Regions from separate parts of the Homo sapiens genome. Here regions 1 and 2 are each linked to region 3. The links are contacts of gene promoters, found by promoter capture Hi-C in blood cells and fetal thymus (Javierre and others, 2016). All regions are on one chromosome and are shown on one strand. Each heading gives the region's core, a stretch centred on a gene start or on the middle of the fragment in contact. The rest is flanking DNA. Distances are from core to core; before and after follow the strand shown.

Region 1 (3,891 bases), core at 643-3,142, 440 kb before region 3:
AATGCTGGGAATAGAGGAAGTTTTTCTCATTTCTAAGGGCCAGTAACCATGGTATTTTATTTCTCCCTACTTAAGGAGGGAAAGAATCTGGAATTTTCTCCGGATTTATTATCTACCAATATAGCTAGCACTTAGGGAACGTTCTTAACCTAAGCGCTCAACTAGGCAGGGCGCAGTAGCTCATGCCTGTAACTTCAGCACTTTGGAAGGCCTAGGCAGGAGGATGGCTTGAACCCAGGAGTTTCAGACCAGCCTGGGCAACACCCGGAGACCTCCTCTCTTCAAAAAATTAGCCGGGCATGGTGGTGCCGCGCCTGTGATCCCAGCTACTCAGGAGGCTGAGATGGAAGGATCGATTGAGCCCAGGAGTTCGAGGCTGCAGTGATCTGTGATCGTGCCACTGCATCCCAGCTTGGGTAACAGAGGGAGACCCTGTCTCAAAGAAAAAAATTAAATATATAAGTGCTCAACCGCATTCACTTTTAATCTCCATAAACTAAGCTTCACACATTACAATATGAGGAAGGCAAAGTCACAGACAGAAAGGAAAGAAAACGGAGGGAGTTAGTATTTAATAGCTACACTTTCTGTTTCCGATGATGAAAAAGTTCTGGACATGAAGCAGTGACGGTTACAGCACACTGAGTCAGTATACTCAATGCCACTGAATTATACGCTTAAAAAATGGTTAAAATGGCAAAGTCTACGTTATGTCTATTTTACCACAATGAAATAAATGTCTGGGAAATTCAATGTGTACCCAGGCTTCCCCTTCCTTCCCGGCCGCTGATCTTGGAGCCAAAACCTCTCTGTCTCTCTTAAGTGTCTGTAATCAGAATGAATGAGTTTCACCGGGGCACAAGTCGATGCTTCCTCCTTTAAAGAAACTTTTAAAAGCCAAGGAGTCAAAGAGCCCCAAGCAGGACTCGAAAAGCTGATGAAGTCTGGAAGTAAATGAACCCGCCTCCTGACAGAACAGCTTCCCCGAAACACGGGAAAAAGGGGATTCCTCCCCCGACTTCGTATCTGTCTGCTTCCGAGGGTGAACGCTAAGCAGCAGATCCCATCTCTCCACTAATACCTGCGGCGCACCCGGGGAGGAGGAGCGGGAAACGGCGAGGGACTTGAGCCAGGGCCAGAGCGTGGGGCGAGGGGCGGTTCCGAGGGAGGCACTTCCCGCGGAGCGCGGTCGGCGCGCGGGGACTAAGGGGCGGGGCAGGAGGGGAGCCCCCCGACCCGGCTTCGCGGCCCTTCCTGACGCTTCCCTCGCTCGGTTACCGTTGACTCGGGCTGACTGCGCGCGAGGCCTCCCGGGCGCGCACCCTCTCTCCTCCCCCCACGTTACGGATCAGAAAACAGACCCCGGGAGGAGAGGGGACGGGGGGCTGAAACCCGGCCCCCGAGGTCACCCTCCCGGGGAGCGGTCGGGTAGGCCTCGGAGGCTCTCCGGTCCGGGCCCGCGCCATCAACCCCCATGCGCAGCAGCTGGGCCTGAGGCCTCGACTACGGGGTTGGCCCCGGCCTGGAGGGACTGAGGGTGGCGAGGCTCGAGGCCCGGTGTAGGGGACGATTCTGGAGGCTCCCCCGGCTCCCCGCTCACGGCCCTAGACGCCGCTACCCTGAGCAGGCGGTACGGGAACAGCCGGGGCCGAGGCCGCGCCGGGGCTAGGCCGCCAACAGACCTAACGGAGCCGCCGCCCGCGTCGGCCGCGGAGAGGAACCCTTACCCGTGGCAAAGGACCGTGGGATACTCACCCCTTAGGGCCCGGAGCCCCGTTGCCGCTCGGCACGCCGGGCGCGCCGCTCTCTTCCTCCATTTTGATCTCCGTCGCCGCCACCTCCGCCGCCGCTTCGACCCCTGCCGCCATTTTCTCCGCGTCTGGGCTTTGTGTGAGCGAACGGGCTGCACCGCGCTGCGCCTGCGCGCCCACGTGACCCGACGCAACCAGTAACACCTGCGCCCGCCGCTCCCGGCTGCCTCCTTGGCCCCACTCGCCCCGGGCCACGCCCCCGCCGCGCGCAGGCGCAGACCGGCAGCTGTTGATCGCTTCTCTCTCGAGATACACTCGCGTTAGGCACCGACTGGCTGTTCCCGGCGCGCGTCCTCTGAGTCCGATAGAGGAGGCATCTCCCCACCCCACCCCACACAAACACCTAGACCTAGTCACTCTCAGCTTTCTGTAACCAGAGCTGGAGCAGAGGGGAAGCAATGATCCTGTCTAGAGATTCCTGGAAGTTTTAGATGAAGCTTGTTCAACCCGCGGTCCGGCACACGATTCGTAAACTTTCTTAAAACATTGTGTCTTTTTGTGTGATTTTTTTCTTTTTGTAACGCAATTGCGCGGTTCTCCAGCGCGAACTTTGTAGGCAACAACGGAACGGCATGGAATAATATCAGAGTATTATCCGTAATTCGCATTATAATTGCAAACAGTTCGTCCAGAAGAAACGGAAAACTGTTAAAATTCACTAATAATGGGGCCAGGCGCGATGGCTCACTCCTGTAATCCCAGCACTTTGGGTATGGGAGGCCGAGGCGGCGGATCACCTGAGGTCAGGAGTTCGAGACCAGACTGGCCAACATGGTGAAACCGCGTCTCTACTAAAAATAAAAAAATTAGCTGGACGTGGTGGCGGGCGCCTGTAATCCCAGCTACTCGGGAGGCTGAAGCAGGAGAATCGCTTGAACCCAGGAGCCGGAGGTTGCAGTGAGCCGAGATCACGCCACTGCACCGCAGCCTGGGAGATAGACTGAGACTCCATCTCAAAAAACAAAAAGATAAGTATTGAGTACTGGGCTTAATACCTGGGTGATGAAATAATCTGTACAACAAACCTCCATGACAAGTGTTTACCTATTTAACAAACCTTCACATTTACCCCCAAACCTAAAAGTTAAAAACAAAATTAAAAAAAAAATTAATGGCTGGGCGCGGCAGCTCACGCCTGTAATCCTACCACTTTGAGAGGCCAAGGCGGGTGGATCACGAGGTCAAGAGATCAGACCATCCTGGCCAACATGATGAAACCCTGTCTCTACTAAAAATACAAAAATTAGCCGGGTGTGGTGGCAGGCGCCCATAATCCCAGCTACTGGGGAGCCTGAGGCAGGAGAATCGCTTCAACCCAGGAGGAGGAGGTTGCAGTGAGCCAAGATCGGGCCACTGCACTCCAGCCTGGTCACAGAGTGAGACCCCATCTCAAAAAAATTAAAAATAATAATAAAGAGCGAGAGGACTCTTGCAATGTTGCATAAAGTGAACTGTGACAGAATTCAGGGTGTATTCTGTACTAGGCATAATGCTGTATGGTCTTATTTTTGTGTGCATTCGTGGCATCAGTTTTATGGTGCTGTGCAGCCTCCAATGTGCCATTTTCCAAGTGCAGACAGTCGAATTGGCACCATCAGATGTTACGTGTGCTTGTGGCAACTTGGGCAGTAAGATGCAGCGATTATCTTTTTGAGACGGAGTTTCGCTCTTGTTGCCCAGACTGGAGTGCAATGGCGCCATCTCGGCTCGCTGCAACCTCCGCCTCCTGGGTTCAAGCGATTCTCCTGTCTCAGCCTCCCGAGTAGCTGGGATTACAGGTGCATGCCACCACGCCCGGCTAACTTTTGTATTTTTAGTAGAGACAAGGTTTCATCATATTGGTCAGGCTGGTCTCGAACTCCTGACCTCGTGATCCGCCTGCCTCAGGCTCCCAAAGTGCTGCGATTGTAGGCGTAAACCACTGCGCCTGGCCTTCAATGCAGCGATTATCAATAATATATTTTTTTCTTTTTTTGGAGACAGTCTTGCTCTGTCACAGAGGCTGGAGTGCAGTGGCACCATCTCAGCTCACTGCAACCTCCGCCTCCTGATTTCAAGCGATTCTTCTGCATCAGCTTTC
Region 2 (4,321 bases), core at 60-2,559, 410 kb before region 3:
AGCCTCAGTATTATCATCTCTAAAATGAGTGTTACAGGCCGGGCGCAGTGGCTCACGCCTGTAATCCCAGCACTTTGTGCACTTTGGGAGTTCAAGGAAGGTGGATCACTTGAGGCCAGGAGTTCGAGACCAGCCTGGTCAACATGGTGAAACCCCGTTTCTGCTAAAAAGACAAAAATTGGCCAGGCACGGTGGCGGGGGCCTGTAATCCCAACTACTTGACCAGGGTGAGGTAGGAATCGCTTGAATCTGGGAGGCAGAGGTTGCAATGAGCTCAGATCGTGCCACTGCATTCCAGCCTGGGCAAGAGAGAGAGACTCTGTCTAAAAAAAAAAAAGACGGGGAGTCATAATGATATGTAGTTCATAAATTAGTAAAAAATTAAGAAGTTAATAACTATTAGCTCTTATTATAATTACTATCATCAGCTTACAGAGTTGTTGATGAGAGGTCACACAGTCAACCCTGGCACACACAGTAAGTGCTCAATAAAAGCTCTATTAATATTTTTTAGGGTAAATGTGGAGGTTGTTATTGCATTCATTCCTCCCTGCATGAGAAGCAAGGTTCCAATCCCAGCTCTACTCCTTATGTGCTGTGTGGCCCTGGGCAAGACACTTAACCTCTTTGAGCCTGGACTCTCTCAACTGTATAACAGGGGACATTTCTACTGCTTCCACCTACTCAGTATGGTTTCAAAAGAACTGAATGAGCTCAACATGCCCATTTGACTACCCCGTTTTGAGCACCCACATAGCACAGGGCATCCTGTTTCAGCATCTTTGTGCAAAGTGGCTGGGTCATTATATTATAACTTACTATTTTGCAGGCAGAGCCGCTCTGAGAAGGAGGTTGGGGAAGGGCATTGGCCACTTAGCAGTTGCCTACTGTGTGTCAGGCGTTTTCTGCACCAGCCACCTCCTGAATCCTCCCAGAAGCCCCATCAGGTTGGCAATGGGATGACCCAGTTTCACAGGTGGGGAAACCGAGGCTCGGAGAGGCGCCTATGTGTGCCGGACCCCGGAGACCTCCCACCGGCCTTGACACGGGAACTGAGGTCCCCGCGTCCCCGAGAAGGCTGTGGCCAAGGGATCGAGCCCAGCCGTCCCGCCCGGGTGCCGAGCTCCGGCCTCGAACCCGGGGCCGGCCCGCGGACTGGCGTCCTCCGGCCCTACCTGCAGGCCCGTGCCTACCTGATCCGCGGCCGGGCCGGGCGGCCGCACAGGCCCCTCGGTTCGCCTCGGCCCCGGTCCCGGCCCGGCCCGGCCCGTCGGCGCCACTAGCTCCGCTCCGGCCGGCACCTGCGTCCGGGCACCGCCCGCCGAGCCGACAGCGCCGCGGACCAATAGCGACCGCCTCTCGCCTGCATTCGCCAATCGCCTTGCACGTCCCGCCCTAAGAGGCGGGGCCGGAGGCCACAGGGACGACTTGGGCCGCACAGGCCCCGCTGTGCCGCAGCTGCTGGCTCCGCCCCTGCCGCGTCTTGGCTCCGCCCCCAGCTCCGGCTCCGCCCCAGCACTGGCCCCGCCCCAGCCCCGCCCCAGGCACGAGGGGGTGCTGCTGCGCCACCTGCAGACGGCCAGCGTCCTCTAATAAATAAAACCTCTGCAGAATTTAACTTTTTTTTTTTTGAGACTGGCCGGGTGCAGTGGCTCATGCCTGTAATCGGAGCACTTTGGGAGGCCGAGACGGAAGGATCGCTTGAGGCCAGATGTTGGGGACCAGCCTGGGCAACATGGTGAGTTCCCGTCTCTACAAAAAATTTAAAAGGATGGGCGCGGTGGCTCACGCCTGTAATCCTAGCACTTTGGGAAGCCGAGGCGGGCGGATCACGAGGTCAGGAGATCGAGACCATCCTGGCTAACACGGTGAAACCCCGTCTCTACTAAAAATACAAAAAAATTAGCCGGGCGTGGTGGCGGGCGCCTGTAGTCCCAGCTACTCGGGAGGCTGAGGCAGAGGAATGGCGTGAACCCGGGAGGCAGAGCTTGCAGTGAGCCGACATCGCGCCACTGCACTCCAGCCTGGGTGACAGAGTGAGACTCTGTCTCAAATAAATACATAAATAAATAAATAATAAAATAAAATAAAATAAAAGTTAGCCAAGTGTGGTGGCCCAGGCCTGTAGTCCCAGCTGCTCTGGAGGCTGAGGCAAGAGGATCACTTGAGCCCAGGAGTTCGAGGCCAGTCTGGGCAACATAGTAAACTCACCCACCCCCATCTCTAAGACAGATCAATTTTTAAAAAAATACTGCACTATATGTTCACTTAGTATAAGCACACTTTTGCACATAATCACAGTATAACCTTCAAAATCAGAAAATTAATGTTCATCTAATATTATCATGTAATTCCCAGAGCCCATTCAAAGGCCAGGTGCAGTGACTCATGCCTGTAATCCCAGCACTTGGATCATTTGAGGTCAGGAGTTCGAGACCAGCCCGGCCAACATGGTGAAACCCTGTCTGTACTAAAAATACAAATAATTAGCTGGGTTTTGTTGTGGGCACCTGTAATTCCAGCTACTCAGGAGGCTGAGGCAGGAGAATTGCTTGAATCTGCAAGGTGGAGGTTGCAGTGAGCGGAGATCTTGCCACTGCACTCTAACCTGGGCAACACAGCCAGACTCTGTCTCAAAAAAAAGAAAAGAAAAGTTTCCAATAAAGTCCTTTAAAAATCCAAAGTCCAGGCCAGGCACAGTGAGTCATGTCTGCAATCCCAGCTCTTTGGGAGCCCAAGGCAGGAAGGTCTCTTGGGTCTAGGAGTCTGAGATCAGTCTGGGCAGCACAGTGAGACCCCATCTCTACAAAATAAAATAAAAATATTAGCCAGTTGTGGTGGCATCCTCCTGTGGTCCCAGCTACTTGGGAGGCTGAAGTGAGAGGATCAATTGAGCCCAGGAGTTCTGGGCTGCAGTGAGCCATTACCTCACCACTGCATTCCAGCCTGGGCAACAGAGCAAGATCCTGTGTCAAAAAACAAAAAATCCCAAATCCATCCCAGGATCAAGCATTGTATTTTGTTGTTAACGACTCTAATTTAGTCTCTCTTTCTGGAACATTTTATCAATCTTACCTTCTCTCCATGACATCAATATTTTTCAAAAATTCCAGGCTAGTAATTTTGCAGGAAGTCCTTCCATTGCTATTTGTCTAATACTTTCTCATGATTTTGCATTTGTGGCAGGAAACAGATGTGACGTTGTGTTTTCAGGATGCATACAATGCTGATTTTGTCCACTATCGATTGTGCTAACTTGGTTCAAATGGTGTCTGCCAGTTTCTCCAGTGTGAGGTTAGTATGTTACACTGTGGTGTTTTGTTGTTGTTGTTGTTTTTAATATTTTATTTAATTTTAATTTTTTTTTTTTTTTTTTGAGACAGAGTCTCACTCTGTCACCCAGGCTGGAGTGCAATGGTGTGGTCTCAGCTCACTGCAACCTCTGCCTCCCAGGTTCAAGGGATTCTCCTGGCTCACCTCCCGAGTAGCTGGGATTACAGGCCCGCACCACCACGCCCAGCTAATTTTTGTGTTTTTAGTAGAGGCAGGTTTCACTATGTTGGTCAGGCTGGTCTTAAACGCCTGACTTCAAGTGATCTGCCCACTTCCGCCTCCCAAAGTGCTGGGATTACAGGCAGGAGCCACCACGCCCGACCAATTTTTTTTTTCTTTTTTGGCGATGGAGTCTCATTCTGTGGCCCAGACTGGAGTGCAGTGGCGCCCTCTCTGCTCACTGCAACCTCCGCCACCGGTTCAAGTGATTTTCCTGCCTCAGCCTCCTGAGTAGTTGTGATTACAGGCCCGCACCACCACGTCCAGCTAATTTGTGTATTTTTAGTAGAGATGGGGTTTCGCCATGTTGGCCAGGCTAGTCTTAAATTCCTAACCTCAGGCATGAGCCACGGCACCTGACTTTACACTTTGTTAATAAGTGCTTTCTGGGGAGATACTTCGAAAGTAATTAAATAGCCTGTTCCTCAACACACGCCGTTTCCAAGAGCTTAATATCAATTGATGACCCTTGCCTGAGTCAGTTATTACCATAATAGCAACCAAATGGTGATTTTCTTTTTTGAGATGGAGCGTTGCTCTGTCGCCCAGGCTGGAGGGCAGTGGCGCGATCTCGGCTCACTGTAAGCTCCGCCTCCGGGGTTCACGCCATTCTCCTGCCTCAGCCCCCCGAGTAGCTGGGACTACAGGCGCCCGCCACCACGCCCGGCTAATTTTTTGTATTTTTTTTTAGTAGAGATGGGATTTCACCGTGTTAGCCAGGATGGTCTCGATCTCCTGACCTGGTGATCCGCCCTCCTTGGCCTCCCAA
Region 3 (4,452 bases), core at 1,377-3,876:
AGCATGCAGGAAAGAAAAAGGACACAAAGTATCTTCTATTTTGGAAAGATAACAGATGCAAAACATCCTGTATTTTAAAATATTGACTACATGTTTAAATAATAACATATTCAACCTACTGAGTTAAATAAAACACATTACAACTAACATCACCCGTTTCTTTTTACTTATTTTTAAACATGGCTAACAATGTACCAATTTAAATTACATACCTCGCTGACAAATCTGTGGCTTGCTTATACTGTTTTTTTGAGATGTAATTTCCCTCTTTCACCTAGGCTGGAGTGCAGTGGCGGGATCTCGGCTCACTGCAACCTCCACTTTCCAGTTTCAAGCGATTCTCCTGCCTCAGCCTCCCGAGTAGCTGGGATTACAGGCTCCTGCCACCACGTCCAGCTAATTTTTGTATTTTTAGTAGAGACTGGGGTTTCAACATGTTGGCCAGGCTGGTCTCGAACTACTGACCTGGTGATCTGCCCGCCTCGGCCTCCCAAAGTGCTGGGATTACAGGCGTGACCTACTGTGCCTGGCCTGCTTTGTTTATACTTCTATTGCACCGTGATGACCCAGAATGCTGGCTACTATAAAATTTAACAATTAAATGTTAAATTTAACATTTAATTGAGCTAGGTGTGGTGGCACGTGCCTATAATCCCAGCTACTTGGGAGCCTGAGGCAGAAGGACTGCTTGAGGTCAGGAGTTAAACCTGTGGGATGATTGCACCTGTGAACAGCCACTGCACTCCAGCCTGGGCAACACAGTGAGACCCAATCTCTAAAAAGCTTTCCTAGGCCGGGTGGTGGCTCATGCCTGTAATCCCAGCACTTTGGGAGGCCGAGGTGGGTGGATCACTTGAGGCCAGGAGTTTGAGACCAGCCTGGCCAACATGGCAAAACCCCATCTCTACTAAAACCACAAGAATTAGCTGGGTGTGATGTTGCACGCCTGTGATCCCAGCTACTTGGGAGGCTGAGGCACGAGAATCACTTGAATAGGGAGGCAGAGGTTGCAGTGAGCTGAGATCACACCACTGCATTCCAGCCTGCACAGCAGAGTGAGACCCTGTCTCCAAAAAAAAAAAAAAAAAAAAAAAAAACTTCTAAGAAAATATGATTAAAAAAAGAAACAGGCTGGGCACCGTGGCTCCCGCCTGTAATCCCAACACTTTGGGAGGCCAAAGCAGGAGGATCACTTAAGTCTAGAAGTTTGAGACCAGCCTAGGCAATACAGCAAGACCTCATCGCTACAAAAAAATAAAACATTAGCCAGGCATAGTGGCACATCCTGTAGTCTAAGCTACTCAGGAATCTGAAGCCGGAGGATTGATTGCCTGAGCTGGGGAAGTTGAGGCTGCAGTTAGCTGTGATCATACCACCGCACTCCAAATTGGGTGACAGAGTGAGATCCTGTCTCAAAAAAAAAAAAAAAAAAAGAAAAACAAAATTGTAGGCCAGGCGCAGTGGCTCAAGCCTGTAATCCCAGCACTTTGGGAGGCTGAGGCGGGCAGATCACGAGGTCAAGAGATACAGATCATCATGGCCAACACGGTGAAACCCCGTCTCTACTAAAAATACAAAAATTAGCTGGTTGTGGTGGCGCAGCGCCTGTAGGCCCAACTACTTAGGAGGCTGAGGCAGGAGAATCGCTTGAACCTGGGAAGCGGAGGTTGCAGTGAGCGGAGATCACGCCACTGCACTCCAGCCTGGCGACAGAGCGAGTCTCCGTCTCAAATAAATAAATAAATAAATAAAAATAAAAAGACTATTATTTTCAGATCATAAAAAAAAAAAAGAAAAAATTAGGCAGAGTGCAGGCATGCCTGTAATCCCAGCTCTTTGGGAGGCGGAGGCAGGAGAATCGCTTGAGTCCAGGAGTTCGAGACCAGCCTGGGCAACAGAACCAGAGCCCATCTTTACATAAAAAAAAATTAAACATGTAGCTTGCATGTATTTCTACTAGGGCATTCTAGGCCAGCGCTGGTTTAGAATGTTAGCCCAATAAGACCAGGTATTTTTTTTCTGCTCACTGCCCATACAGTGATTGACACACAGTAGGCGCTCAATGACATTTTAATGAATGAATGAGATGCTGAGCCTTCGGGAACTGGCTTGCTCAAAGAGCCAGCACCGATGAAGCGCTGACCACGTTCCATGCCCCGCCTCCTCAGCGCACCAGAGAAGGAAACTGAGGCCCGGCAAGGTGACGTCAGCTCCTGCCCAACGGCACGTAGTGCGGAAACGTCGGGGCCGGGATTCGAACCCAGGTTCTGTACCCGTAACCCCGGCGCGCTGACCTTTCCTACCTTACCGGGCGGCGGCAGGACAGACAGGTGCGGGACACACGGCGAGCGCTCAACCAGAGGCGCCGCTCCTCAGCCACCGCCTTCCGTCAGCCTCCGAGGGCCGGAACCCAGTTCGCCCCCTCCGCGGCCATCGCTGGCTGCCCGCGTCTCCGCCGGCCGCGGAGCACTTCGCAGGCGGCGCCGACCGGAAGTCCCGCCTCTCCCGCGCGCCCCGGAGCGCCGCGACAGCTACGCCGGCCAATGAGCAGCGCGCCGTGGCGGACGTCGGCCAATGGGCTCGCGCGCGGGGGGGGCGTGTCCGGGCCGCGGGCCGGAGCGGGTCGTGCGCGCTGAGGAGGAGCCGCTGCCGCCGTCGCCGTCGCCGCCACCGCCGCCACCGCTACCGAGGCCGAGCGGAGCCGTTAGCGCCGCGCCGCCGCCGCCTCCCGCCCGCCCCGGAGCAGCCCCGGGCCCGCCCGCCCGCATCCAGGTGAGGCGGTGGGGGGCCTTCGGCGGCGCCCGACGGGGTAGGCCGCGGCAGGCCTGAGCTCGCCTGGCCTGGCCGCGGGGCGCCCGCGGGCCTGCACCGGCCGAGGCCCAGGCCGCGCCGGACCGGGGGAGGGGACGCGCGCTGGGGCCGCGGCGGGCGGGTCGGGGCGGGCCGGTGTGGGCGCCGGCTACAGGCCCCGGGGCCGGATTCCTCTGGCGCCTCGAGGGACGGGCGAGGGGGATACGGCGTGGGCATGCGCCGGGGGGCCGGGCTGCACGGCCGGGGGCCCCGGTCGCCTTGGAAGCCCGGGCTCCGGGGGCGGGAGAGTGGGGCCAGCTACGGGGGAGCGCCGGGAACGCTTTGAGCGCGCAGAGGTCACGGCCCACGGGCTTGCTCCCCCGGGAAATCCCACAGATTCTTTTGTGGTCGTTGTCAGAGCACCGCGGCCGGTGCGAGGTCCTTTGAGAAGTGTGCAAACCCTTCAGTAGATACACGGGAGTCCTGGGGGAAAAAAAAAATCTAAACTGCATCTTTTTTTGAGCGCCATCTCTAACAAAGCTGTTTGTGGGGCGTGGGACGTTAGGATTTGTAAAATATGTGTGTGTGCCTGTTGGAAACACAAGCTGCACACAGTTGAACAATGGGGGATGGATGCCCTTCCTTCCTTTTCCGGTGCTCTGGGCTGCGGGGCTTGTTAAAATGGGTTTTGGTCCCTACTGTGTGCAGGGCAGGTGGAGAAGAACTTCTGCACAACTTCTGCATGGGCTTCCCGTGGTGGGACTGAGCCCCCTTGCTAGAAAGTGTTCATCTAAGATCCGGATGGCCAGAAATGGGAAGATGAGGAGAATGATCTGTCTAGAGCAGGGTTTCTCGACGTTGGCCCTACTGATGTTTGGGGTCAGATAGTTTTTGGTTGTGGTGGTAGTGGGGGCTTCCCTGTGCAATGTAGGAAGTTGAGCCGTATTCCTGGCCTCTACCCACTAGATGCCAGCAGTATCCCCATGCTCCAAGTCGTGAGGATCAAAAGTATCTCCAAACATTGCCAGATGGCTCGGGTTGCGGGGGAGGGGTCTCTTCCACTCTCACACGCACAGGTGAGAACCATTACTGAACTAAATGCTCTTCCTCCAAAAGTTCTAATGCCCTGGGAGATGCTCCCAAGACCTCGAACAAGCTTGACTCTGTTGAGCCTTAGTTTTCTTATCTATAAAATGGGAAGGACAAAAGTGTGGTGCAAATTGAAGAGGGTGGAAATCCCGTTGCGTTGTGCGTGGTCTGTGCCTGGTAGGCACTGAATAAATGATGTTGTACATAGCCACCAGTATTTATTGAGGATTTACTATGTGCTTGACACTTTGTGGACGTTTGTCTGCAGTCCTTGAGGCAGGTGATGTTATAATTTCCATTAATTTCCATTTTAGAGATGAAGAAACTGAGGCTTAGATGGGTCACTTGATGTGACCAGTCTCATGCACTAAAGTGGCTGCGCCAGGGTTTGAACTCGGGCCCTCTGATTCAAAACCCTTACTCTTAACCACTCGATTGTACTGCTCCTATAATCACAAGGCTCCAGGGCACTCCAGTTGTCATCGAATATTTTCTGTGTGCAAAGTTCTGTGCTGGGATCTATTATCAAATTCTGCAACTTCGAGGCCCACAAAGAGGTTGAGATACACGAAC

Evidence for each region. Contacts are between HindIII fragments. The CHiCAGO score rates a contact against its expected background, and 5 or more counts as called.
Region 1: a contact is called between the fragment with the promoter of HNRNPM here and the fragment with the promoter of ELAVL1 in region 3, in 12 of 17 cell types (fetal thymus, naive B cells, activated CD4 T cells and 9 more). The highest score is 12.9, in fetal thymus.
Region 2: the fragment with the promoter of MARCHF2 here is called in contact with the fragment with the promoter of ELAVL1 in region 3 in 7 of 17 cell types (total CD4 T cells, total B cells, naive CD8 T cells and 4 more); the score reaches 7.1 in total CD4 T cells.

The regions. Positions count from the first base shown.
Region 1 is chr19:8,442,976-8,446,866 of GRCh38, reverse strand. HNRNPM (heterogeneous nuclear ribonucleoprotein M) reads right to left here and starts at 1,892. Exons shown (of 16, transcript NM_005968.5): 1 at 1,756-1,892. The coding sequence starts at 1,868. RefSeq lists silencers at 1,384-1,613, 1,854-2,133. The HindIII fragment of the contact is 1,747 bases long and covers 504-2,250 here.
Region 2 is chr19:8,410,293-8,414,613 of GRCh38, reverse strand. It overlaps MARCHF2 (membrane associated ring-CH-type finger 2), which reads right to left and starts at 1,309. Exons shown (of 5, transcript NM_001005415.2): 1 at 1,194-1,309. RefSeq lists silencers at 1,143-1,302, 1,333-1,692 and enhancers at 1,184-1,684, 2,555-2,849. The HindIII fragment of the contact is 7,216 bases long and covers 1-4,321 here.
Region 3 is chr19:8,003,815-8,008,266 of GRCh38, reverse strand. It overlaps ELAVL1 (ELAV like RNA binding protein 1), which reads left to right and starts at 2,626. Exons shown (of 6, transcript NM_001419.3): 1 at 2,626-2,772. It overlaps LOC105372266 (a long non-coding RNA gene), which reads right to left and starts at 2,454. Exons shown (of 4, transcript XR_936302.2): 1 at 2,309-2,454. RefSeq lists silencers at 2,251-2,740, 2,971-3,170, 3,201-3,250. The HindIII fragment of the contact is 3,163 bases long and covers 786-3,948 here.